Linked DNA regions of Homo sapiens: all the other regions are linked to region 3. The links are contacts of gene promoters, found by promoter capture Hi-C in blood cells and fetal thymus (Javierre and others, 2016). All regions are on one chromosome and are shown on one strand. Each heading gives the region's core, a stretch centred on a gene start or on the middle of the fragment in contact. The rest is flanking DNA. Distances are from core to core; before and after follow the strand shown. Region 1 overlaps PSMA6 (proteasome 20S subunit alpha 6). Region 2 has its middle 5.8 kb from the start of BRMS1L. Region 3 holds the start of HECTD1 (HECT domain E3 ubiquitin protein ligase 1). Region 4 holds the start of FAM177A1 (family with sequence similarity 177 member A1). Region 5 has its middle 94 kb from the start of SPTSSA. Region 6 overlaps NFKBIA (NFKB inhibitor alpha). Region 7 has its middle 15 kb from the start of SNX6.

Region 1 (3,251 bases), core at 56-2,555, 4.1 Mb before region 3:
TTACAGGCGTCCACCACCACATCTGGCTAATTTTTGTATTTTTAGTAGAGATGGGGTTTCACCATGTTGGCCAGGCTGGTCTCAAACTCCTGACCTCAAGTGATCTGTCCACTTTGGCCTCCCAAAGTGCTGGGATTACAGGTGTGAGCCACCATGTGTGGCCCTGAACATGTATTTTCTAAATGATGTTTGCCTCGAAAGGAAGCAATTGTTTGGCAACCTTGTTAATGTGACCTATTACTACTAGACTTCTAAAAAGTGAAATTTGTCAAAAGGACATTTTTTAGTGCAACTGAAGGCAATATCAAGCAGTTTAAATAGTTGTTGATGCTTATGCTATGTACTGTAATTATTTACATATATTTACTATCACAGAATTTATAAATGATACAAAGTTTTTTGAAGACAAGATTTTTGATTCCTTACCAATTTAAAAAATAACAAATACAATTTTAAAGGTGGCAGGAAGGTCTCCAAACAGAAAAGAAAACAAGAACTAATTGTAGGTTCCTTAGAGAGATTTTAAGATTATTCTTGCTGAAATTTTTACTTAAAAAAAAAAAAGGCACCTTTTTCAAAAGCAACTTGATCCCTGCCCCCACCCCTCACCCCTACCCCAACCCAAGTTACAAGACTTCTTCCTACGGGAAGAAAAGCTAGGATAGATTCGCTTTTGGTGTTGTCGGTTGTTTTTTTAACAGATGAGGTCTCACTATGTTACCCAGGCTAGAGTGCAGTGGCTATTCACAGGCACTATCATTGCGCACTACAGCTTTCAACTCCAAGGCTCAAGCCATCCTCTTGCCTCAGCCTCCTGAGGAGCTGAGACTACAGATGCATGCCACAGCACCCAGCTGTTTTTTTTTTTTTAAAGTCCTATGAATTTTTCTGAATCTGTCATGTTTATATGACTTATCTGTGGGCAACCAAAAGAACAAATTAGGAAAAAAAAGAACAAACGAAAAACCTCTTCAAGGTCTAGTTAAGCTTAGTTTACCACTCCCGTACCCCACACCACAACCAAGACCATGTGTCTTTATGGTTGTGATCTAAGAATAGATACACATAATAGTTAAAATGCCTCCCAGTAGTTCCTTGTATCTGTCGATTTAACTGCAGTATTTTCATTAAAGATAAGAGCATCCTGGTCCATGGTATATCAACTGCCTCACAGGGCTGCTGGGAGGATTAAATGAGCTGATTATACGAAGCACTCAGTATGGATTTGAATCATGGAAGCTATAAGGCTGATGTGTGGGAGTTAGTCACTTAGTGAGTAAGAACACACACACACACACACACACACACACACACACACATCCAGCAACTGCAAGTCAATTAGCTGTATTCAAAATTTGGGCTTTCCAAAGATCTCTAGATAAGGGTCTGACATATATCAGTAACTCATATTGCTCCTCAAAGTTCTACTTAAATAACCACTAAATAACCAAAGTTCTATCTGAAAAACTTGCAAACTACTACTTTGGGAATTGAATTTGTATTGGCCTTAAACTAAAAAAAAGAAAACACTTATGCTAATTTTTTTCCTTACATAAGGAAGGTAACTTTATGTCATCTCTGGTGTTAGATATAAAATCACTCTGAAATAAGGAGAAAAGCTTTCATATCTGACTCTTAAATAGAGTCCAAAGTTTTAAAAACAGATCTCAGGTGCTGGGGAAAAAAACAAACACACAAACAAAAACTATAATGACAGTTAAAGAAAAAAGATTTCCCCCACAAGTTATAGGACACATGGACTCACACGCCTCCACCTTTCTAGTCTGCATGTGGCCCACAATATCACTCACCTGAATTTAGGATTTTCAACTGTCACTACTCCAACTTCTATTTCTGAAGGTTTGAAATCAATTGATAGAACAGTAGACAGGCATGTAATTGCAGTCTGAAAAAAAGTATTTAATGTTAAAATATAGTATTTTTTAGAGATTCCAAGGTTTTCTCATTCCTAGCTTATTCAAATCATGAGTCAATCAGGAGCTCCATGTTTCAATGAGGTAGTTCAATGTTACTAACAGACTGCTTAACTCTAATGTATTGCCTCCCAATGATGAGAAATTTTTTTCTACCAAGTCAAATAATAAAGGGGTCCATTAATTAAAATAGGATGATTTATACAAAAAGGTTTATTGGCTTCATGACCCAGGCACTACACTTCACTTAGCACTTGGGGTGAAATGGGAAAAGGATAAAGATGAATGATACTCTCTGCATCTTCAAGGAATTTACAGTAAAAACGATTTAAGAATGTTTTAAGTGTTGTTTGTTTGTTTTGTTTCTGTTTTTTGAGGCAGAGTCTCACTCTGTCGCTCAGTCTGGAGTGCAGTGGCGCCAGCCTGGCTCACTGCAACCTCAGGCTCGTGGATTCAAGCGAGTCTCCTGACTCAGTCTCCTGAGTAGCTGGAATTACAGGCGCCTGCCACCATGCCCGGCTAATTTTTGTATTTTTCATAGAGACAGGGTTTCGCCATGTTGGCCAGGATGGTCTCAAACTCCTGACCTCAGGTGATCTGTCTGCCTCCCAAAGTGCTGGGATTACAGGTGTGAGCCACCTTAAGTGTTTTTTTACCGGATGTGGTTATTTATGTAATTAATTATGAATTGCAATAAAAGAAACCTTTAAGAAATATTTAGACAGGGCCCAGTACTTCCTGAACATGAACTAGCTTTTTATCTCCTTTAAGCATACTTCCAAACCAAACGTAAAAGCATTAGATGGTAATTTTTTTTTGGTCACTTATCAGAAGCATGTTGTTAGCATCTTCAGAATGGCTTTAATTCCAGACTTACACCCAAAATCTACTAAAATTTTTGTTTTTAATTTCTTGGCAGTAAATAGGACTGGCCTCGAACACCTAGACTCAAGCAGTCCTCCAGCTTCAGCCTCTCAAGTAGCTGGGACTACAGGTGTGTGCCACCATGCCCAGCTGGTTCCTATTTTTATTTATATTTTCCTATTATATGCGTTTTGTTGAAAGCCACCTCAAATACATTACGAAATAAGGAATTAAGTGAATAAAAGCAACTCAAATTTTCCTATGTCAGCTGTATGATATCAATTTCATTATTAAGTTGACAACTTGAATCCTGGGATGTAATTCAGGAATAGCTTTGTATAGAAATTATACAAAGATCCTCACTGTTCTATATAGCATAAAAAAAGTCAGCTCCTTTTGGTTGACTTACTTCCACTGTCTGTTCAAATGTCCAATCAAATTTCTTCTTCACTT
Region 2 (3,488 bases), core at 914-3,413, 4.6 Mb before region 3:
AAATATCAGCAGCTATCAGAGTGTGTGCTAAATCGTAACAATTAGATTTCTGGTCACTCAATGTGCCAAGTGTGTTATGTGCTTTAAGTACATTAATTCACTGAATCCTCATAACAATCCTATGAAGTCGATACTATTATGCCCTCCATTTTATAGATGAAAAAACCGAGGCACAGAGCAGTTAGAGTACTTGGCCAAAGTCACATAGCTACTACGTAACAGATCTAAGATTTGAACTTGGGTAGTCTGACATAAAAATCTGTGTGCAACCACTGGCATACAGTGCGCCTCTAGTGGTTGCTTTCTGTTTCTGCTGTTCCAGGAAAAACAGGAAAGGTGGAAAGGAGGAGGCATGGGTTCTAGCCTTGTTCTCCTAGTAACCAACTGATAAAATTTGGCAAACCACATAATCTCTGATCCGTTGTAAAATAAGAAGTTTGCAGTGTGTTAACTTTAAATTCTCTTCCAGCTCTAAAATTCCTGTCATCATTAAGTTTAATTTTAAGGCAGACAGAATAATAGGAGATTATGCAATTAGAGTTGCATGAGAGTATTTTGCCTAAGGCAAGAGTTTCTCTCACCTCCTCTCAAACAGATTTTAGAAAAGATGCGTAGGGAATGTGAGAAGAACCATAATAGGGAAAAGTTAATAAGGCTAAAAAATAATTTTGTTGATTTAGAAAATACAAAATAAAGTCATGGAAGCAGAATGAAGTTTCCTTAATCAAGGCAGTTAAAAGGGTAATAATGATTATTATTATTATATTATTATTATGCAGTTGGGAGGTCCAGGATGCCTTACATTTATGTAGCACTTTACATTTTGCATAGGGCCTATATAAACATTAGATATATTTTAAGTCTCACTTTTTATTAATCCATTCATATTTACATATTTGTAGAGCTCTGAAACTCATAGCTAGTCATCATCAAAATCTCCTATATCTTCATTCTCTTCCCTGAACTGTTCCCTCAACATTCTTGTTCTAAAGGAAATATGGCTCTCCCTTAGGACCTTGCTTCCTTTGTACCCTCCTCCTCCTCCTGAGCCTTGTCATGGAGTAGGTATGCTCCTCGTTCTCCTTCTTCCATCCAGAGGCTCCTGCTTCCCTCTTCCCTAAAATCTGCCAGTTTGTCATCAGGATATACCACACAGTATATATGTGGGTGTCATCTATATAACCCAGGGTCACTCCCTCTCACGTTTTGAAGAATTTAGCTCCTGGCTCAGTGTCATTCTCTCCAATAACATGCCTATCATAATTCTTGGTAGATAATCCCATAGCACTCCGTCTCCTGCTGGGTTTGCTCTGGTACAAAGTAGACATATAGTAATTTTGGCATTTTGCTTCTAGTTTTCCTCCCCTATCTTCTTTGGGGTATACTTTTTTTCTATTCTGTTTTGTGTAATATTTTAAGTCATAAATATTTAAACACAGAGAAAGGTATTCAGAACATTGCATATGTAACACAGTACCTACCTCTCAGCTCTGTCAAATGTTAGCATTTTACATTTGCTTCCGATGCTTCTCAATCCTAATTCTCTCCTTCCCTTTCCAGAGTAACTAGTATCCTGTTTTTGGTTACCATGTGCTTTGGTTACCCATGCATCTATACATACTATTTTTGTATATGTATCCAAAAATAATATATAGTATTGTTTGGCCTGTTTAAAGTGCTCATATTTTTATTTTAATTATTTATTTTTATTATTTTTTATTTTAGGAAGATGTTGTGGTTTTATTGTATCATGAGGCATTGAAACATCTGAACAAATCAATGTCTGGGCGGTGAGGCAGCTTCTTTCTCTTCACTTCTTTGGGTTGCTAGAGCAACTTGTCAGTAGATTAAAAGAAAAAAAAGGACAATCTTTTGCATTACTTAAGTCTTTCCAAGGCATGCGCTGGTACAATACAAACTTCTCCCGTCAGATGCAACTAGTCTAGCGTCCAAACATCATGCACAACACCTCGGCGGCAGCAGCGCACTGCACCCACTCCCGCCACGGCCCTGCTCATTTGTGCATGATATTTGGAGCATCTGGAGGAGTGGGAATAGCACTGGGGAGAGGAGGGAGCAAGAAACAGCATGAGTGCCTGCTGAGAGGTCAGCCAAAGTTGTGCAGGGCGAGCCTGAACATGTCATTGGTGCAAACCCAAGTATTGTTGATGTTCTTTAATAGGAACATCTGGTGGAACCCCATGATGGCGGTCTTCATCCGCCTTAAGCTGGCCCACAACCATGCTGATGATGCAGCTATGCGGCGTGAGCTGATGGTCCTGCGCGGTGATGCTGTGCTGGATTTTCTGGAACCGAAGGCTAGACAACTTCTCCACAATGGCAGCTTTCCCCTGGAACTGTTGTCCTTCCCACGTAAGGCATGATGCGTCAATGTAAATTGCGCCTAGTTGGGGTCTATCGTTATCAAATAACTGGTAGTAATGTGGAATGAAGCTGGATCCTATCTGCTCCCAAATTGGCTTGTCTCCCACTCTGGACCGTCAGCCGGCCTCGCGGAGACCCGAGGGGCTGGCACGATGGCTGCAGCGGCGGCGGCAACCCAGCACGGTCTCAAAATGCTCATATTTTTAAGTGGTCTCATGCATTACGTATGCTACAACTTGACTTTCTCCTTAGTGACGTTTTTGAGATTTACCCATTGTGATTCAGGTAGCTCTCATCCAGTTATTTTTACCTGCCATAACATGTTCCATTTAGTAAATATATTCTATTGAATGAATATTACAGTTTACCCATTTACCTATTAATGGACAGGGAGGCTGCTCCCAATTTTTTCACTATTAAAAACATTTGTCTCAGACCCAGCACAGTGGCTTACGCCTGTAGTGCCAGCACTTTGGCAGGCTGAGGCAGGCGGATCGCTTGAGATTGGGAGTTGGAGACCAGCCTGGGCAACATGGCGAAACCCCGTCTCAACAAAAAATACAAAAATTAGCTGGGCGTGGTGGTGCGTGCCTGTAGTCCCAACTACTTGGGAGGTTGAGGTAGGAGGATGGCTTGAGCCTGGGAGGTCCAGGCTTCAGTGAGCTGTGATTGTGCCACTTCACTCCAGCCTGGGTGACAGACAGAGTAAGCCCCTGTCTTTAAAAAAAAAAAAAAAAAAGTTGCCTCCGTGAACATTGCATTTGTTTGTTTGTTTGTTTGTTTGTTTGCTTTTTTTTGGACAGAGTTTTCCTCTTGTTGCCCAGGCTAGAGTGCAATGGCACCATCTTGGCTCACTGCAACCTCCGACTCCCAGGTTTAAGCAATTCTCCTGCCTCCGCCTCCGGAGTGGCTGGGATTACAGGCGCCCCCCACCATGCCCGGCTAATTTTGTGGTTTTAGTAGAAATAGGGTTTCACCATGTTGGTCAGGCTGGTCTCGAACTCCTGATCTCAGGTGATCCGCCCACCTCAGCCTCCCAAAGTGCTGGGATTACAGGGGTGAGCCACCGTGCCCAGCATGAACATTGTTGTATGCACCTTTTC
Region 3 (3,009 bases), core at 376-2,875:
CTAGTTTTTCCAGTGTTGTAGTCCAGAACTTGCTACTTAGCTCAGCCTAATTTCTGCATTCCTCATTCAAGGCCTTCCCCACTTTAGCTCCAAATTTCTCTCTCTGTTGCTTACTGTTGGTTCTTTGCTGGGGGCACAGGTGACCTTTCCTATGTCTAGGAACATATCAGGCTTTATGTTCTTCCCTTTCCTTTCAGTGTCTACATTGTACCCATTCTTCAAGGTCCAGAGGGAATGCCACTTCCTTCTTGAAGTTTCCTGGCAGCTCCAATTCACACTCATGACATCTAAATAATTATCCTCATGTGTTGTACTTGGGACAAAATAGTTGAATCCTCTTTTTCCTCTTGTTTCGTTAACAGGATACCTAAACGGACCATTACCTGCGACAACGGGACATGCGCGGATAGCTATCTGAAGTACAAATTTGTCATTTCCAAAATACTGGTTCTTTTTCTAAAGAAGTAGTAAAAAAGAAAGAAAAAAAAGAACCAGTATTTTGGAAATGACAAATTTGCTTAGTCGCCCAGGCTGGAGTGAGGTGGCATTATCAAAGCTCACTGCAGCCTCAATTTCTTGGGCTCGAGGGATCATCCCATCTCAACCGCTCCAGTAGCTGGGACCATAGGTGTGCGTCACCGCATCTGGGTAATTATTTTTTAAATTTTAATTTTTTTGCAGAGACCAGGTCTATGTTGCTCAGGCTGGTCTCGAACTCCGGGCCTCAAGAGAGTAAAATCATAAAGTGCTGGGATTACAGGAAACGCAGCGGACCCAAATTCTGTTCTTTACTCATACCTAGCAGCTCCTCTGGTTGCCTGAGGGACCATGTCTCAAACACTATCATGTCGTATTAATTTTTCTTTTTGTTTAAAAGCTGAAAGTGAGAGTACAGTAGGACGTCTCCGGGCTCCAACTACGTCCTATAAGCATGCATCCTTTATTCTGAATGCGTGTGAAATAAAGTTTGAAAAGAATAACCACAGACATACTTGTGACCACAAGCCACAAGAAACGTAGTCAAAAGTGCACTCTCAGTGCTGCTGCCGACCGGGCACGGCGCTGGGCCTGCATTTGCGCTTTCCTGGAGCCTCAGTGTCTCATCTGTACAACGTTGATAATCGTCGGCAGCACCTCTTTCCCAGGGTTGCTCTGAAGGGTTTTCTTTGGGGTGAACCGCCAGGCGGTCGGCCTCCCAGGAGCGGGGGGAGACGCCTTCCTTACGCGACGCACTTCCGTGCGCGAGGAGGGAAGATCGTGGCTGAGTGCGGGTGGCCTGGGCGGAAGGCTCAGCGGGGACAGGTTGGGCCGCAGCTTTGCTGTGCTGTGCCGTGCGACGCCCTCCGCAGGAGCGCGCAAAGTGTTAGCCACGGCGCCAAGCAAGCTGGACGTGCGTGCATGAGCGCGCTCGGACTGACAGGGAAGCGAAAAGGGGGCCAGGGCGCACCATAGAAAAGCCGCGGCAGAAACGTACGACACAGCCCGAGGCGGCGGGGGCGAGAGCTCCGGGGCAGGGACGGCGACGCGGCGTACCCGGTTTGGCGCCCCTGCGCGGCGGTCGGCCGTCCCGCAGCGCCCCAGGTGGCCGCCGGCGGGGTCGCCGCCGGGGGAGTGGATTTGCTCCGCCTCCGCCGGGCTCGGCTGCCCTCGGCAGCTTCCCCGCCTGGCTCTCCCTCGACCCTCCTCCCCTCCCCCTCCCGGTTCGCGATGGACTGGGCCTCCCCGCCGCGCCGCCGCCGCCGTCGCCCGCAGCACCGCGCGGGCCTCTGAGTTGCAGGGCCTGAGGAGCCGCGTGCTGGGGACTGGACGTCCGCTGGCTGCTGCCGCACGCGAGAACCTCTCGCTTCCCTGTCACCAGGTCCTCGCGGAGGAAGGGGAGGGACGAGGCGCGGCTTTTCCTGTGCCGCCTGCCCGGTTCGACCTGCGCGGCCTGCGGCTTCTTGGGAACTCTAGGGCCGCGGCCGGGCCTGGCTCTGCCGGCGGCCTGTTGGGAGCTGGATCGGAGCGGTTTGGAACGACAAGCCCGAGTAAGAGCCTGCGGGAAGGGGAGGCGGGAGCGCCTCGGACCGTCGGAAGGGCCCTGCGTGGGGGCGCGGATCCCGGACGCCCGGCGAGTGGCGGAAAGCGAGACCCCGGCGCCGAGTGAGGTCGGCCAGGCTGCTGCCGACTTCCCCGCTGGCCCCTTTGTTCCCCTCCCGGGGCCCTGCCGGCGGCGGGGCCCGGTTGCCCGCGCCAGAGCCTCAGGCCGGCTCCTTTTGCCCTTGAGAAGGGTTCGCTGCCAGGCCTTCGAGTTCCGGGCGCAGCTCCCGGGAGAGCCGGCGCCCTGCCTGGCCCGGCGGCCTCCTCTCGGGCACGAAGGCTTGCTGCTGCTTCTCCAGAACTTCCCTTCCTCGTAGACACAGGTAGTTAACTTAGCGGGGTTTGGTGCTGGGGAACCACAGCGCGGGGGCCAGCGCCTCTCAGCGCCCGGCTCGGCCGGGCCCCGGGTGTGGGGTCAACCCCGCTGGTCGCCGCCGTTGGGTGCCCACCGCGCCCCGCCGCCGGCTTCCCACACTTGCGGCTGCGTTACGTGGGACCCAAAGCTGTCCTCCAGTCAGGGCGCTTACGGGGCGCTTTTGTAATGACTTACCTGTTGGGGTTGCTTCTCGGTTTTGTTTTTGTTTTTTTAACCAACTGCCCTATCTTGTGAAGCTGGGGAAAGAGGGCCCTAGGTTGGCCTACATTCGTTCGGATCCGTAACCTGCTGGTCCATTGCATTTACTTTTAGCCTTTCCTTTTTTAATTTTTTTATTTTTTTAACTTTTAAGAATAGTTGCCAAGACTGCCAAAATTCCTAACCAACTCTTTATTCATAGATAAATCTTGTATATAATTGTCGTTTGTATTTGGATATCTTTAAAATAGAAGTAAATTGAGAAGTCAGCAGAATATGTGAAATTGGAGGTAATTTTGAAGGAGAAACAATTTGGAGGGGGATTGGATCAAGGTGTTTAGAGTTTCCTCAAAATA
Region 4 (3,325 bases), core at 1-2,500, 3.8 Mb before region 3:
TATAGAGTTTGGTATGTGGGAAAGTTGTGTTTTTTGTTTTTGGGGTTTCTTTAGTTTTTTATTTAAGAGATGGGTTCTTGCTCTGTTGCCCAGGCTGGATAAGCTTTTGTTAATGCAAACGACATCTTATACTATAAGAGATACACAGAGATATACTCACAGTTTGGGGGAAATGTCTTACTAACATTCAGGTACTTAGTCTCAAAAATGAAGCTACTGAAAAAGCTTCATTCTCATGGAGGATGGGAAGAGTTACATACATGAGCAACTCAAGGGTTTTTTTTTTGTTGTTGTTGTTGTTGTTGTTGTTGTTGCTGTTTTGAGACGGAGTCTCGCTCTGTCTCCAGCCTGGAGTGCAGTGGCGTGATCTCGGCTCACTGCAACCTCCACCTCCAGGGTTCAAGCAATTCTCCTGCCTCAGCCTCCCGAGTAGCTGGGACTACAGGCGAGCGCCACCACGCCCAGCTAATTTTTGTATTTTTAGTAGAGAAGGGGTTTCACCATGTTGGCCAGACTGGTCTTGAACTCCTGACCTCAGGTGATCCACCCGCCTTGGCCTCCCAAAGTGTCTTTTTGTCTAATACTGAAAAGTTGCAAGAAACGTTAACTCTCTAAACCAGCGCTGTCCAATACAGTAACCACTAGCCACATGTGGCTAATGCGCACTTGAAATGTGGTCAGCCAGAACTGCGATATGCTATGCGTGTAAAATGCACCCAGGATTTAAAAGACTTAGAAAAGACTCCAAAAGAGAATGCAAATACTTCATTAATAACTTTCATAGTAATTTTAGGTTGAAATTGTTTTGATAAATTAGGTTAAATAAGATATGCTATTAAAATTAATATCGGTTTCACTTTTTTAAAACGTGCCTACTGGAAAATTTTAAATTACAATTTTCAATGCAGCTTGCATTCTATTTATGTTGGACAGCGCAGCTCGGAGCCTTAGTTGCCTCGGCGGTGAAATGGGGCTAACACCCACCTCGAGCGGTTACTGTAAGGATCCAGTGAATTAAAGCTGGTAAACGTTTGGCATATGCCAAGCAAAGGGCAGATGCCCAGGCAGGCGCTCGCACCAGAAGAGACTGAGAAGTGGTTGAAGCCGCCCTCACCTGGCTTCCAGCTACTGCAAGGACAGCCTTTGGGGGACACGCCTTTCTTCTTCCTCTGGTAGACCAGAAGCTGGACTATCACCCCAGGAACCCGAGGCCGCCCCAGAGTCTGCTGTGCTGCCAGCCAAGGGGTTGGTGAGTGAGGCGGGGGGCGCTCCTTCCCACAAGCTGGTCTCAGTGAGCAGAAACAGGGGTGCAGTGAGGAGGAACTCCAAAGCTGGGGCGGCCTGCTCGGAGGACGGCCGCGCAGGCTAAAAGAGCGGCCCGCGGAGAAGGCAAGGAGGCGGCTCGGCTCCCCGGACGTCAGCCTCGGCGGCCCCACCTACCTGCCCTGCAGATTCCCCGAATGCCGCGGCGGCCGCAGCTCCCGAGGCTGCGACGGCTTCTCCTCGTTCCACACCGCCCACTGGCTCCTGGTCCATCGTCGTCGCCACCACAGGGCTGCTGGCGCTGGTGAGAAAGAGGGTAATGGCCGGTAAGCCCACTTCCATCCTTGGTCTCCCCGCCCAGTCGCTGGCCGAGCCAGGCTGTCGGGAAGTGGGACTCACCCGCCCAGCGCCCGCCTCGCGCCGCGCCTAGCCAAGTCTCTGAGAAGGGGACTCGCCGGCCTGAGGGGCGGGGCCAGCCCGCGCCTCGCCTAGCCCGCCGGGCTCCGCACCCCGAGAGCTGGCCAACTGCAGTCTGGGAGGCGCAACTACCGGCTCGCGCGGGGCGGGGCGGGGCGGGGCGGGTCCTTGCGGGGCGTCGCTTCCGGCCAAGCAAGCATCCAGAGCTCGTGGATCCCCGCCTGGCACCGCCTGTGACGTCATTTCTGGTACGTGTACCTGAAGCCTGGCGTCTCGACCTCGGCGCAGCCCGTCACCAGCGGCGTCTGGGGCAGTCACCCCGCAGGACCTCGGTTTTTGCACTTGTAAAATGAAGACAGCTGTGTCGTTGTACTTCAAAGGCTAGTGATGGGATGTGGTTGCTGAAAAATGTAAAATGTACGGCTCGTGCTGCACTTTCCATTCCAAACGTGGGTGACAGTCCAGCCAAAATACCCTCGAAAGAAGAACCCCAGGCGTGATATTTGCTTACTCTTGTCTGAAATACTTAAGTATAACTGTAGAAAGTGTTAAGTGAAAAGACCTGAAGGAGAGCAAAGGGCAGTAGTAAGCTTCCATCTTGACAAATGTAAGGAATGTTTTATCTGTGTCTTAAAGTCGTGTGCGTATGTTAGAGGGGGCGTCCCAGATTTTTTCCGTCTTTCGCAATGTTCAACGAAAGTAAAAAATCATGCAATTACTGCATGACTTCAACATCAAACAAGTCTGAGGTTCTGCAGGTAAATGGTATATTGTTGTTTTAGCATGAAAGTTTTCACAAATATGTAGGGGGCAAAACCAAAACATACATTATTTTGGCTATGGGAGGCTTCATTTGATACTTTAAATTCCATTTTCATACTAGTCTCAATTCAGAAATGCTCCCTAAAGTTGTATGACCTTGTAAATGTTTTTCATCATAGCAACAGCAGGCCCAAATATTAAATATTCCTTTCTCTTCTGTGCCAAAGTTCTTCTCCTTACCCTCTGCCTAATGTTATTGTACACTTCCTATTCTATGTATAACTGGAACCTAAAAACAAAACCAAAAACTTTAAAAAACAAATAATCATTTGAAAACCATCTACGCCTTAAAAACTAGTTGGAAATCCATATTGCTCTCTATCCTGGTAATAAAATCAAGTTAGGTTGCTGCTGAAGTAAACAAGTTAGTACCTGATCTGACTCTGTATGGTGGCATCAGCAGGGAGTTGAGACAGTCCAAAACAGCAAAACCAAACTCGGCCATAAATTGAAAACAAAAATAAAGAACCAATTGTTAAGACTTCATGAATTGGCATTCATAAACAACACAGTTCTGCATTATATGTATTCAAAATCTCTTCCTTCTTACTGGCAAGCAGGGCAATCAACAATCTTTATTACTAAAACTTTGTGGGATATTTATAAATGCATGATTTTATTTTCCAAAGTGGCAATTAAATATCAAATTACAATTTTCTTTTTCTTTTTTTTCTTTTTTTTTTTTTTTGAGATGGGGTCTCACCCACGCTGGAGTGCAATGGCGCAATCTTGGCGCACTGCAACATCCGCCTCCCGGGTTCAAGCGATTCCCCCACCTCAGCCTGCCAAGTAGCTGGGATTACAGTTGTGCACTACCACGCCC
Region 5 (3,496 bases), core at 159-2,658, 3.2 Mb before region 3:
AAGAAAAAGAAGAAGAGGAAGAAAGAAAAAGGAAGAAGGAGGAGAAGGAGAGGAGGAGGAGGAGAGCAAATCAGTAAATCACTTAAGTAAAATTTGCCCTGCAAAGAAGTCAGGGCATCTTGGTCCTATCTTGTTCTCCCCCTCACCAAATTGGTGCCACTTCCTGAACACACTGGGTGCTTTCACATACTGGTGCATTTGCTGGCATGGTTCTGCCTGGCCTGGATGCCCTTCCCTTCATTTCTCAACACTTCCCCCGTCAAAAGCCAAGGAACTCCGTTGTGTAGCTTTCTCCAACACCCACAGATGGAATTAATACTTCCCTCTTCTGTAGACCCACACCACTCTGGAAACACCCCTATCATGCAGTTTATTATAGTCTGCCTAATTAGAAGCATGGTATTTGTCCACTGTGGTTGACCATGAGCTCCTGGCAGACTGGCAGTATTTTATCCGCTTTGTAGTCTTAACAGGTGGGGCAGAGCCTCTGATGATTCTGGGGGAAAAGAGTGAAATCACCTTTTGCCATTTGTCATGTTGTAAAGCTTCCTTTCCTTTGCTAAATACTTACCAGGAGAGCCCTACCATCATGGCTTAAGCATTTTTGTCCCACAGCAAGGGACTAGCCAGGGCAGGGAGGTAGATAGTTTTGTATTTCATATATGGCTTGTATTGTGCCATGAGAATATTTGCAGGCTTGTTACTTTGAAGTGCCTCTGTCAGAGACTAGAGGAAGCCTGATTCTCAAGCCCAAATGAGATAGGAAAGTTGTCATGGATACCATAACTGCCAGTCTTCTTGGATGTCATAGGCGAGGCAGGTCAGCTCAAGAGAGAAGTGCTTCCTGGTGGTGTTTGCCATGCCTGATTGTGGATAAATCCAATATAACCCAGCATTTTCTACACTTGTTTGAATGCACGAAATCTAGTGGGCAAAGATTGAGAAAGGCAGCCTTTAATTGCTGGGTGTGGTGTAAGGTTGATTGAGTGTGGTGGAGTTGTGAGTAGACTTGCCTGCAGAGAAGTAAAACAGATGGAAATTCCATGGCCTTGTAAGTGAGTTTTTATCTCTATTTAAAATCTTTCTCATTTCTTCAACTTACGGTTATGAAATATTTCAAACACACAGAAAAGTTGAAAGATTATTATGGTGTAATCCCATATGCCCTCCACATAAATTTCACAATTGTTAATATTTTGCAATACTTGCTTTATTTTTCTCTGTACTTTGGTTTTCTTTTTTGTGTGCCATTTGAAAGCAAATTATGTACACATGATGACACAACACTTTTCGATATTCAGCATTTCATCCCTTAAGAATACAGATATTTATCCACAGAAACAAAATGTCATTATCCCTGCTAAGAAAATTAACTATCTAAAATCAACTAAATATTTACATTTCTGGCCGGGCATGGTGACTCACGCCTGTAATCTCAGCACTTTAGGAAGATTGCTTGAGCCTAGGTGTTCAAGGCCAGTCTGGGCAATATAGTAAAATGACGTCTCTTAAAAAAAAAAAAAAAAAAGGCAAGAGTGGTGGTGCATGTCTATAGGCCTAGCTACTCAGGAGGCTGAGGTGGGAGGATCACTTGAGTCCAGGAGGTTGAAGCTGCAGTGAGCTATGATGACACCACTCACGGCACCCCAGCTTAGATGACAGAACGAGACCCTGTCTCAGAAAAACAAACAAACAAACAAACTGCATTAATTCCTCCAAAATGTCTTTGTAGCTGTTTCTCTCAAATTAATGCATACATTACATTTTAAAACTTCATTTTAACATAGAATGTTTTATCCCTCTTTTTTTCCCTCCATGACATTGACTTTTTGAAGAATCCAGGCTCGCAGCCTTATAGAATGTCCCACATTCTAGATTGTGTTTTCTCTTGATGTTAACCTGTTCCTCTTTCCCAGTAAGTTTTAACCCGGGCTGTACATTAGAATTCCTTGTTTTGATTAATTGGCCTTACAAAGAAGAAGTAATAAATTGGTCCACTCTGTTCTCACTGGGGGTTTTAAATACAAAACTAAAAACCTAGAAATTTCATACAAATGTCTGAGTGCTGCTCTAATCCAGTTAAATCAGAAGCCCTTGGGATGCAGCCCAGGTGGCCCTACTTTCAAAAATCTCCGGGTGGCTCTAATATGAGGTCAGAAGTAAGAACCACTGCTCTATCTCCTGTATATTCTTTAAACTAGAAGTTAGATTCGAGTATACGTTTTTGTTCAGAATATCTTAACTGTACATTACAATCATGTGGGAAGCTTTAAAAAATACTGATGCTTGGCAACTCCGGCCCCCGCCCCTGCCCAAGTAGATTCTGCCGTAGTTGGCATTAGGAGTTTGAAAAGCTCCTCGGGTGATTCTAATGCAATTAAGAAGCGCTACTGCCTTAGATTAGGTTGTTGAATTTGCATCATATCAGGAAGCATGTAATGCCACAGTGTTCCATTTTTTGTGATGTGAAATTCAATCACTGGATTAAGGTGGTCACCACCATACCTCTCCATTTCAAAGGTACAGTTGCTCTTCTTTGTTTATTTTATATATTTTTTGAGATGGAGTCTTGCTCTATCACCCAGGCTGGAGTGCAGTGGCGCGATCTCAGCTCACTGCAACCTCTGCCTCCCGGGTTCAAGAAATTCTTCTGCCTCAGTCTCCCAAGTAGCTGGGACTACAGGCGTGTGCCACCATGCCCAGCTAATTTTTGAATTTTTAGTAGAGACGGGGTTTCACCATGTTGGCCAGGCTGGTCTCGAACTCCTAACCTTGTGATCCGCCCACCTTGGCCTCCCAAAGTGCTGGGATTACAGGCATGAGCCACTGTGCCTGGCCCAGTTTCTCTTCTTTGTAAAAGTAAGTGGTCCCTGGGATGGTACTTTGGTACTCTAGGGATAGCCCGTATGCTAACAAGTTTTCATCCAAAGGTTTTGGCTTCCACTGGTGATTGTTACATGAATCAATGATTATATCAGGGGTTACAAAATGGTGATCTTCGAATTTTGTCATTTCTTTTACATTTATGAGTGTCTTACTTTTGTAAAGAAGAGCTGTCCTGTTTATCCTCCCCACTCCCTGCCCTGGGATTCACGTATCTTCATTAATAAAGAGCTACCATCATTATCCTTTTTGACGTTAAATTGTATCCAATTCGGCCCGTGGGAAACCCTTCAAGTCGGCTATTTATTTATTGAGATGGAGTCTCACTTTGTTGCCCAGGCTGGAGTGCTGTGGTGCGATCTTGGCTCACTGCAACCTCTGCCTCCTGGGTCCAAGCAATTCTTCTGCCTCAGCCTCCTGAGTAGCTGGGATTACAGGTGTCTGCCACTGTGCCTGGCTAATTTTTGTATTTTTAGTAGAGACAGTGTTTCACCATGTTGGCCAGGCTGGTCTCGACCTCCTGACCTCAGGTGATCTGCCCACCTTGGCCTCCCAAAGTGCCGGGATTACATGCATCAGCCACTGTGCCCAGCCTACAAGTTGGCTTTTTAAA
Region 6 (3,474 bases), core at 266-2,765, 4.2 Mb before region 3:
GTGAGCAGGGCTGCCTGGCCAGCGTGGGAGTCCTGACTCAGTCCTGCACCACCCCGCACCTCCACTCCATCCTGAAGGCTACCAACTACAATGGTATGTCTGCCTCCCTGCCCTGCCCCACCCCCTCGGAGGGCAGGTGACGTGGAGAAGGGGCAGGTGGGCCAACTTAAGGAGTCCAGGCAAGAGCTTAAACTCCTAACATTTGGAAGGTTGAGAAAATATGTGTGCAAAGTGCCTATTGGATGCCTTTATAAAGTTCTTTCAGAACCCAGACTGTGGGTTCTTAAAATTCAGAAGATAAGACTACTTGTTCCATAAAAGAATAGGTGAAAGGAGTGAGGGTTGAAACAGGTGGTTATACTTTTTTCCTTTTGTTCTTCCAGGCCACACGTGTCTACACTTAGCCTCTATCCATGGCTACCTGGGCATCGTGGAGCTTTTGGTGTCCTTGGGTGCTGATGTCAATGCTCAGGTTGGTGCTTCCTGCCCCCGACGCACTGAGTCAGGCTCCTCGTGCTTATGTTGTGAGCAGAAATTCCAAATGCAGCCATAAGCATCTCAAATTCCTTTTGGTTTCAGGAGCCCTGTAATGGCCGGACTGCCCTTCACCTCGCAGTGGACCTGCAAAATCCTGACCTGGTGTCACTCCTGTTGAAGTGTGGGGCTGATGTCAACAGAGTTACCTACCAGGGCTATTCTCCCTACCAGCTCACCTGGGGCCGCCCAAGCACCCGGATACAGCAGCAGCTGGGCCAGCTGACACTAGAAAACCTTCAGATGCTGCCAGAGAGTGAGGATGAGGAGAGCTATGACACAGAGTCAGAGTTCACGGAGTTCACAGAGGACGAGGTGAGTCTGTGAACTCCTTCGGCGCTCTAACTAATGAGGTGCCATTCCCTTCACCCTCCCAGGCCCCTAGAGCTGCTCCTTATCAGAGGGGTATCTACATAATGAGTCTCTCAAATTTCTGTGCATAACCAGTATCCCAAGAATGTACCTGCCCCCCCTCTTTTTTTAAAGAGAAGCATTAAAGGCAAACTCTCTCAGCCTGTAAAGTTCATTATATTTGGGCTATGGAGAATGGAGTCCAAGAGTTATTTCCAGTAGTGGCCTCCCCATCCCGGTAGCTTGGCAGAGCTCCGCTCCGGAAGCTTAACGTGTCTTTTTTCCCCTTGTTTTCAGCTGCCCTATGATGACTGTGTGTTTGGAGGCCAGCGTCTGACGTTATGAGCGCAAAGGGGCTGAAAGAACATGGACTTGTATATTTGTACAAAAAAAAAGTTTTATTTTTCTAAAAAAAGAAAAAAGAAGAAAAAATTTAAAGGGTGTACTTATATCCACACTGCACACTGCCTGGCCCAAAACGTCTTATTGTGGTAGGATCAGCCCTCATTTTGTTGCTTTTGTGAACTTTTTGTAGGGGACGAGAAAGATCATTGAAATTCTGAGAAAACTTCTTTTAAACCTCACCTTTGTGGGGTTTTTGGAGAAGGTTATCAAAAATTTCATGGAAGGACCACATTTTATATTTATTGTGCTTCGAGTGACTGACCCCAGTGGTATCCTGTGACATGTAACAGCCAGGAGTGTTAAGCGTTCAGTGATGTGGGGTGAAAAGTTACTACCTGTCAAGGTTTGTGTTACCCTCCTGTAAATGGTGTACATAATGTATTGTTGGTAATTATTTTGGTACTTTTATGATGTATATTTATTAAACAGATTTTTACAAATGAGTTATCCTGATCATTTTCTTCAGGCTGCCGTGGGCCTCCGGTTCTGAAGTTCCATCCTCCGGCAGAGGTGGAGGTGGAGCAGTGTGAGGGAGGAGGTAACTCCCAGCAGCTTCTCACACCTGACACCCAGCCTCCAGCAAAGCTTTGCAGGCACCCTGGGCCCAGTGTGTGGGAGGGAGGCTGTTGCAAGGTTATAGGAAATTACCAATCTCAGGCTTGGGGTGGAAGCATGCTGTTTGGCCTGTGGTTGGAGACCTCTCCGTTGTCATTCTGTCATCCCGTTGATTTAAACTTCCTGGACCCTAATTGCCAGTTGAGGAAATTATTTTGGCCAAGAAGAATATGCTGAATTCATATAGAGCTGGGAAAGATCTCACTAATACAGGAAGTTCCTAAGGACATAGGCTCAGAAATGGGACTGCACTGACATTTGTTAGCAGATGCTCACCTCTGAGCCTCAGTTTTCTCATTTATTAGCTGGGCTGTTGTGAAAATTACATAAGACAATCCACGTAAAATGCATAGCAGAGCGGCAGGCACGTAGTGCTAAAGAAAAACAAGCTGTTACGCAACGTTCTTTATGTCATACCAGGAGAAACAAGTCCAGAGAGAATGTCCTGTCTAGGGTCACCTTGCAGGAGAAATAGGTGGTTAACATATTTCATACGTGCTCGTTTTGGGGTAAACATCTTTTAAGAGCATTCCATCTCTTAAATCTATGTGTTATTGGCTGTAGTAGAAAAGTAATAAAGGCTTGAAGGGTCTTATCAGTTCAGTCTACTGATTGTACTGGACGATTCTACAGGAGCAAATGTCACAAGAAACCAGTAATGTGAAACTTGGCTTAGATGCTCTATCTTGAGGTTTTCATCCCTAAAATGGCTCTCTTGCCTAGGTAGAGAGAAGAATAAAGATGGGTATACTGAAAGCCCAGACTTTACCGCTATACAATATAAAAAATCTGCATTTGTACTCTGTAAACATTTTTATTAAATTTTTGGGGGATAGGGTCTCACTCTGTTGCCCAGGCTGGGGTGCAATTGTGCAATCACAGCTCACTGCAGCCCCAAACTCCTGGGCTCAAGCGATCCTCCCAACTCAGCCTCCTGAGTAGCTGGGACTACAAGCATGCACCACCATGCCTGACTAATTTTATTTGTAGAGACAGGGTTTCTCTATGTTGCCCAGGCTGGTCTGGAACTCCTGGGCTCAAGAGATCCACCCACTATGGCCTCCCAAAGCACTGGGATTACAGGTCTGAGCCACCACACCCAGCCAAAACATTTCTGAGGAAAAAGTAAAGTTATTGCATTCTAGAAAATGCAGAGTAGTGTATAAATGCAATTCATGTCTTTGACTTATACCTAAGAAAAAATTATTACATTATCCCTTTCCTGATCCACAAACGATGTCAAAGTCAAAAGAATATGGTCACCTTGGACCAAAAAGGAGCCAGTATTTAGTGGTCTTCCACATATAAGGAGTGTTACTACAGACTGGTTAAAGCCAATTCTGCCCCAATTCTTTCTCTTTCTTTTTTTTTTTTTTTTTTTTTTTTTGAGATGGAGTCTTGCTCTGTCGCCCAGGCTGGAGTACAGTGGCATGATCTCAGCTCACTGCAACCTCCACCTCCCGGGTTCTAGCGATTCTCTGTGCCTCAGCCTCCCGAGTAGCTGGGATTACAGGTGCCTGCCACCACGCCTGGCTAATTTTTATATTTTTAGTAGAGACAGGGTTTCAC
Region 7 (3,249 bases), core at 238-2,737, 3.4 Mb before region 3:
AGGAGGCGGAGGTTACAGTAAGGCGAGATCGTGCCACTGCACTCCAGCCTGGGTGACAGAGTGAGACCCTGTCTCAAAAAAAATAAAATAAATAAAATAAAAATAAGCTTTTTATTTTGCAATAATTTTAGATTTACAAACAAGTTGCAAAGATAGTAAGTACAGTTTCCACATGCTCCTCACTCAGTTTCAGTTTCCCCTAAAGTGGTCATCTTACAATACTGTGGCACATTTCCTGAAAGTAAGAGACTAACATTGGTACATTATTATTAACTAGATGCCAGACTGCCACTAGTTTTTCCACCAATGTCCTTTTTCTGTTCCGGGATCTAATCCAAGAAACCACATTGTATTTAGTTGTCTCCTCTGGTCTGTGGTAGTGTCTCAATCTTCCCTTTTTTTCATGACTTTGACAGTTTTGAGGAGTATTGGTCAGGTATTTTGCAGGATTCCAGAAAAATGATTAAGTGCATAAACTAGGGTTATAAAAGAAGGAAATCATATGAAAATATAGGTATTAAAGTTCTTTCATACCAGCCTAAGCAACATAGTGAGACCCTGTCTCCACAGACAATTTTAAAAGGCCAGGCACAGTGTCTCACGCCTGTAATCCCAACCCTTTGGGAGGCCAAGGAGGGAGGATTTATTGAGCCCAGAAAATAGAGACCAGCCTGAGCAACACAGGGAGAACCATCTCTACAAAAAATTTAAAAATTAGGCCAGGCACGGTGGCTCACACCTGTAATCGCAGCACTTTGGGAGACTGAGGCGGGTGGATCACAAGGTCAAGAGTTCGAGACCAGCCTGGCCAACATGGTGAAACCCCTTCTCTACTAAAAATACAAAAATTAGCCAGGCACGGCGGCACATACTTATAGTTCCAGCTACTTGGGAGGCTGAGGCAGGAGGATTGCTTGAACCTGGGAGGTGGAGGTTGCAGTGAGCCAAGATTGTGCCACTGCACTCCAACCTGGGCGACAAAGTGAGACTCCACCTCAAAACAAACAAACAAACAAACAAAAAGAAAGTGAAACAGCCTTATTGTTGATATAGAGAAAGTTTTAGTGGTCTGGATAGAAGATCAAACCAGCCATAATATTATCTTTAAGCCAAAGCCTAACCCAGAGTAAGGCCCTAACTCTCTTCAATTCAGTGAAGGTTGAGAGGGGATGAGGAAGCTGCAGAAGAAAATTTTGAAGCTAACACAGGTTGGTTCATAAGGTTTAAGGAAAGAAGTCATCTTCGTAACATAACAGTGCAAGGTGAAGCAGCAAGTTATCCAGTAGATCTAACATAACTGATGAAGGTGGCTACACTAAACAGATTTTCAATATAGACAAAATAGACTTCTATTAGAAAACGATGCTATCTAGGACTTTCACAGCTAGAGAGGAAAACTCAATGCCTAGCTTCAAAAGACAAGCTCTCTTCTTGGGGACTAAACCAGCTGGTAACTTTAAATTGAAGCCAGTGCTCATTTACCATTCCAAAATCCCAGGGCCTTTAAGAATTATGCTAAATCGGCCAGGCACAGTGGCTCACGCCTGTAATGCCAGCACTTTGGGAGGCCGAGGCAGGCGGATCACCTGAGGTTAGGAGTTCAACACCAGCCTGGACAACATGGTGAAACCCCATCTCTACAAAAGTACAAAAATTAGCTGGACATGATGGTGGGTGCCTGTAATCCCAGCTACTCAGGAGGCTGAGGCAGAAGAATCACTTGAACCTGGGAGGAGGAGGTTGCAGTGAGCCGAGATCGTGCCATTGCATTCCAGCCTGGGCGAGAGAACGAGACTCTGTCTCAAAAAAAAAAAAAAACAAAAAAAAAGAATTATGCTAAATCTAGCCTACCTATGCTTTATCAATGGAACGAAACGACAAAGCCTGGCTGACAGCACATCTGTTTACAATATGGTTTACTGAATATTATTTTTTAACTTTTAAAAAATTTTAATCTATCTATTTATTTAGAGACTGGGTTATGAGACTGGCTGACTTTTGTATTTTTGGTAGAGATGGGGTTTCACCATGTTACAAAGGCTGATCTTAAACCCCTAGGCTCAAGTGGTCCACCTGCCTCAACCTCCCAAAGTGCCGAGATTGCAGGCATGAGCCACAGCACCTGGCCAGTTTACTGAATTTTTTATTTATTTATTTATTTTTGGACAGAGTCTCACTCTGTCACCGGGCTGGAGTGCAGTGGCGCTGATCTCGGCTTACTGCAGCCTCTGTCTCCCAGGTTCAAGAGATTCTCCTGCCTCAGCCTCCCGAGTAGCTGGGATTACAGGCACCTGCCACTGTGCCCAGCTAATTTTTTGTATTTTTAGTAGAGACGGGGTTTCATCATGTTGCCCAGGCTGGTCTGAAACTCCTGACCTCATGATTCGCCCACCTCGGCCTCCCGAAGTGCTGGGATTACAGGCGTGAGCCACCGCACCCGGACAGTTTACTGAATTTTTAAAGCCCATTATTGAGACTTACTGCTCAGAAAAAGAGATTTCTTTCAAAATATTACTGCTTATTGAAAATGCCCCTAGTCACTCAAGAGCTCCGTTAGAGATGTTCAAGGAGATTAATATTGTTTTCATGCCTTTGAACACGATAGCCATTCTGAAGCCTGTGGATCAAGGAGTAATCTTGAATTTAAAGTCTTATAATTTTAGAAATACATTTCATAAGGCTATAGCTGTCATATATATGATTCCTCTGATGGACCTGGGCAAAGTAAATTGAAAACCTTCTGGAAGGGATTCACCATTTTAGATACCATTAAGAACATTCAGGATTCATAGAGGAGGTCAAAATATCAACATTAAATGAAAGTTTGAAAGAAGTTGATTCCAATCCTCATGGATTTAAAAGCTTCTTTTTCTTAAAAGTAATCAGAATCTTTTAGCAATTCAAGACTTCAGTAGAGGAAGTAACTGCAGATGTGGAAACAGCAAGAGAACTAAAATTAGAAGTGGAGCCTGCATCAGATGCTCACGCCTGTAATCCCAACACTTTGGGAGGTCACGGCGGGATGATCCCTTGAGCCCAGGAGTTCGAGACCAGCCTACGCAACATGGAGAGACTCATCTCTTAACAAATAAAAATAAAAAGTTATAAATTAGCTAGTTGTGTTGGCAGACTCCTGCGGTCCCAGCTACTTGGGAAGCTGAGGCAGGAGGATCATTTGAGCCTGGGAGGTTGAAGGTCAAGATTGCAGTGAACCATGACGATGCCCTGCACTCCAGCCTGGGTGACAAG

Evidence for each region. The method cuts DNA at HindIII sites, captures the fragments that hold promoters and counts their contacts. A CHiCAGO score of 5 or more calls a contact.
Region 1: a fragment that was not itself captured here is called in contact with the fragment with the promoter of HECTD1 in region 3 in 1 of 17 cell types (M0 macrophages); the score reaches 6.3 in M0 macrophages.
Region 2: a contact is called between a fragment that was not itself captured here and the fragment with the promoter of HECTD1 in region 3, in 1 of 17 cell types (naive CD8 T cells). The highest score is 6.2, in naive CD8 T cells.
Region 4: a fragment that was not itself captured here is called in contact with the fragment with the promoter of HECTD1 in region 3 in 3 of 17 cell types (total B cells, M0 macrophages and non-activated CD4 T cells); the score reaches 6.6 in total B cells.
Region 5: a contact is called between a fragment that was not itself captured here and the fragment with the promoter of HECTD1 in region 3, in 1 of 17 cell types (M2 macrophages). The highest score is 9.4, in M2 macrophages.
Region 6: a contact is called between a fragment that was not itself captured here and the fragment with the promoter of HECTD1 in region 3, in 1 of 17 cell types (M0 macrophages). The highest score is 8.3, in M0 macrophages.
Region 7: a contact is called between a fragment that was not itself captured here and the fragment with the promoter of HECTD1 in region 3, in 2 of 17 cell types (M0 macrophages and M1 macrophages). The highest score is 8.0, in M0 macrophages.

The regions. Positions count from the first base shown.
Region 1 is chr14:35,313,016-35,316,266 of GRCh38, reverse strand. It overlaps PSMA6 (proteasome 20S subunit alpha 6), which reads right to left. Exons shown (of 7, transcript NM_002791.3): 5 at 3,208-3,251; 6 at 1,812-1,906. PRORP-PSMA6 (PRORP-PSMA6 readthrough) reads right to left here. Exons shown (of 15, transcript NR_182666.1): 13 at 3,208-3,251; 14 at 1,812-1,906. Among named protein-coding and RNA genes, the nearest start is that of PSMA6, 22 kb to the right of the region's middle. The HindIII fragment of the contact is 632 bases long and covers 990-1,621 here.
Region 2 is chr14:35,818,842-35,822,329 of GRCh38, reverse strand. It overlaps the pseudogene NUTF2P2. Among named protein-coding and RNA genes, the nearest start is that of BRMS1L, 5.8 kb to the left of the region's middle. RefSeq lists an enhancer at 2,494-2,995. The HindIII fragment of the contact is 4,817 bases long and covers 1-3,488 here.
Region 3 is chr14:31,206,409-31,209,417 of GRCh38, reverse strand. It overlaps HECTD1 (HECT domain E3 ubiquitin protein ligase 1), which reads left to right and starts at 1,625. Exons shown (of 43, transcript NM_015382.4): 1 at 1,625-2,402. RefSeq lists enhancers at 684-1,195, 1,049-1,218, 1,196-1,707, 2,220-2,733 and silencers at 1,399-1,738, 2,039-2,248, 2,369-2,578. The HindIII fragment of the contact is 4,913 bases long and covers 1-3,009 here.
Region 4 is chr14:35,044,744-35,048,068 of GRCh38, reverse strand. FAM177A1 (family with sequence similarity 177 member A1) reads right to left here and starts at 1,797. Exons shown (of 5, transcript NM_173607.5): 1 at 1,441-1,797. The coding sequence starts at 1,605. RefSeq lists enhancers at 928-987, 1,088-1,357, 2,078-2,277 and a silencer at 1,608-1,957. The HindIII fragment of the contact is 2,045 bases long and covers 228-2,272 here.
Region 5 is chr14:34,366,260-34,369,755 of GRCh38, reverse strand. No RefSeq gene overlaps it. Among named protein-coding and RNA genes, the nearest start is that of SPTSSA, 94 kb to the left of the region's middle. The HindIII fragment of the contact is 1,722 bases long and covers 548-2,269 here.
Region 6 is chr14:35,399,769-35,403,242 of GRCh38, reverse strand. It overlaps NFKBIA (NFKB inhibitor alpha), which reads left to right. Exons shown (of 6, transcript NM_020529.3): 3 at 1-93; 4 at 384-472; 5 at 580-849; 6 at 1,183-1,730. The coding sequence ends at 1,230. Among named protein-coding and RNA genes, the nearest start is that of NFKBIA, 3.2 kb to the left of the region's middle. RefSeq lists enhancers at 1-2, 253-1,126. The HindIII fragment of the contact is 724 bases long and covers 1,154-1,877 here.
Region 7 is chr14:34,643,296-34,646,544 of GRCh38, reverse strand. No RefSeq gene overlaps it. Among named protein-coding and RNA genes, the nearest start is that of SNX6, 15 kb to the right of the region's middle. The HindIII fragment of the contact is 2,755 bases long and covers 110-2,864 here.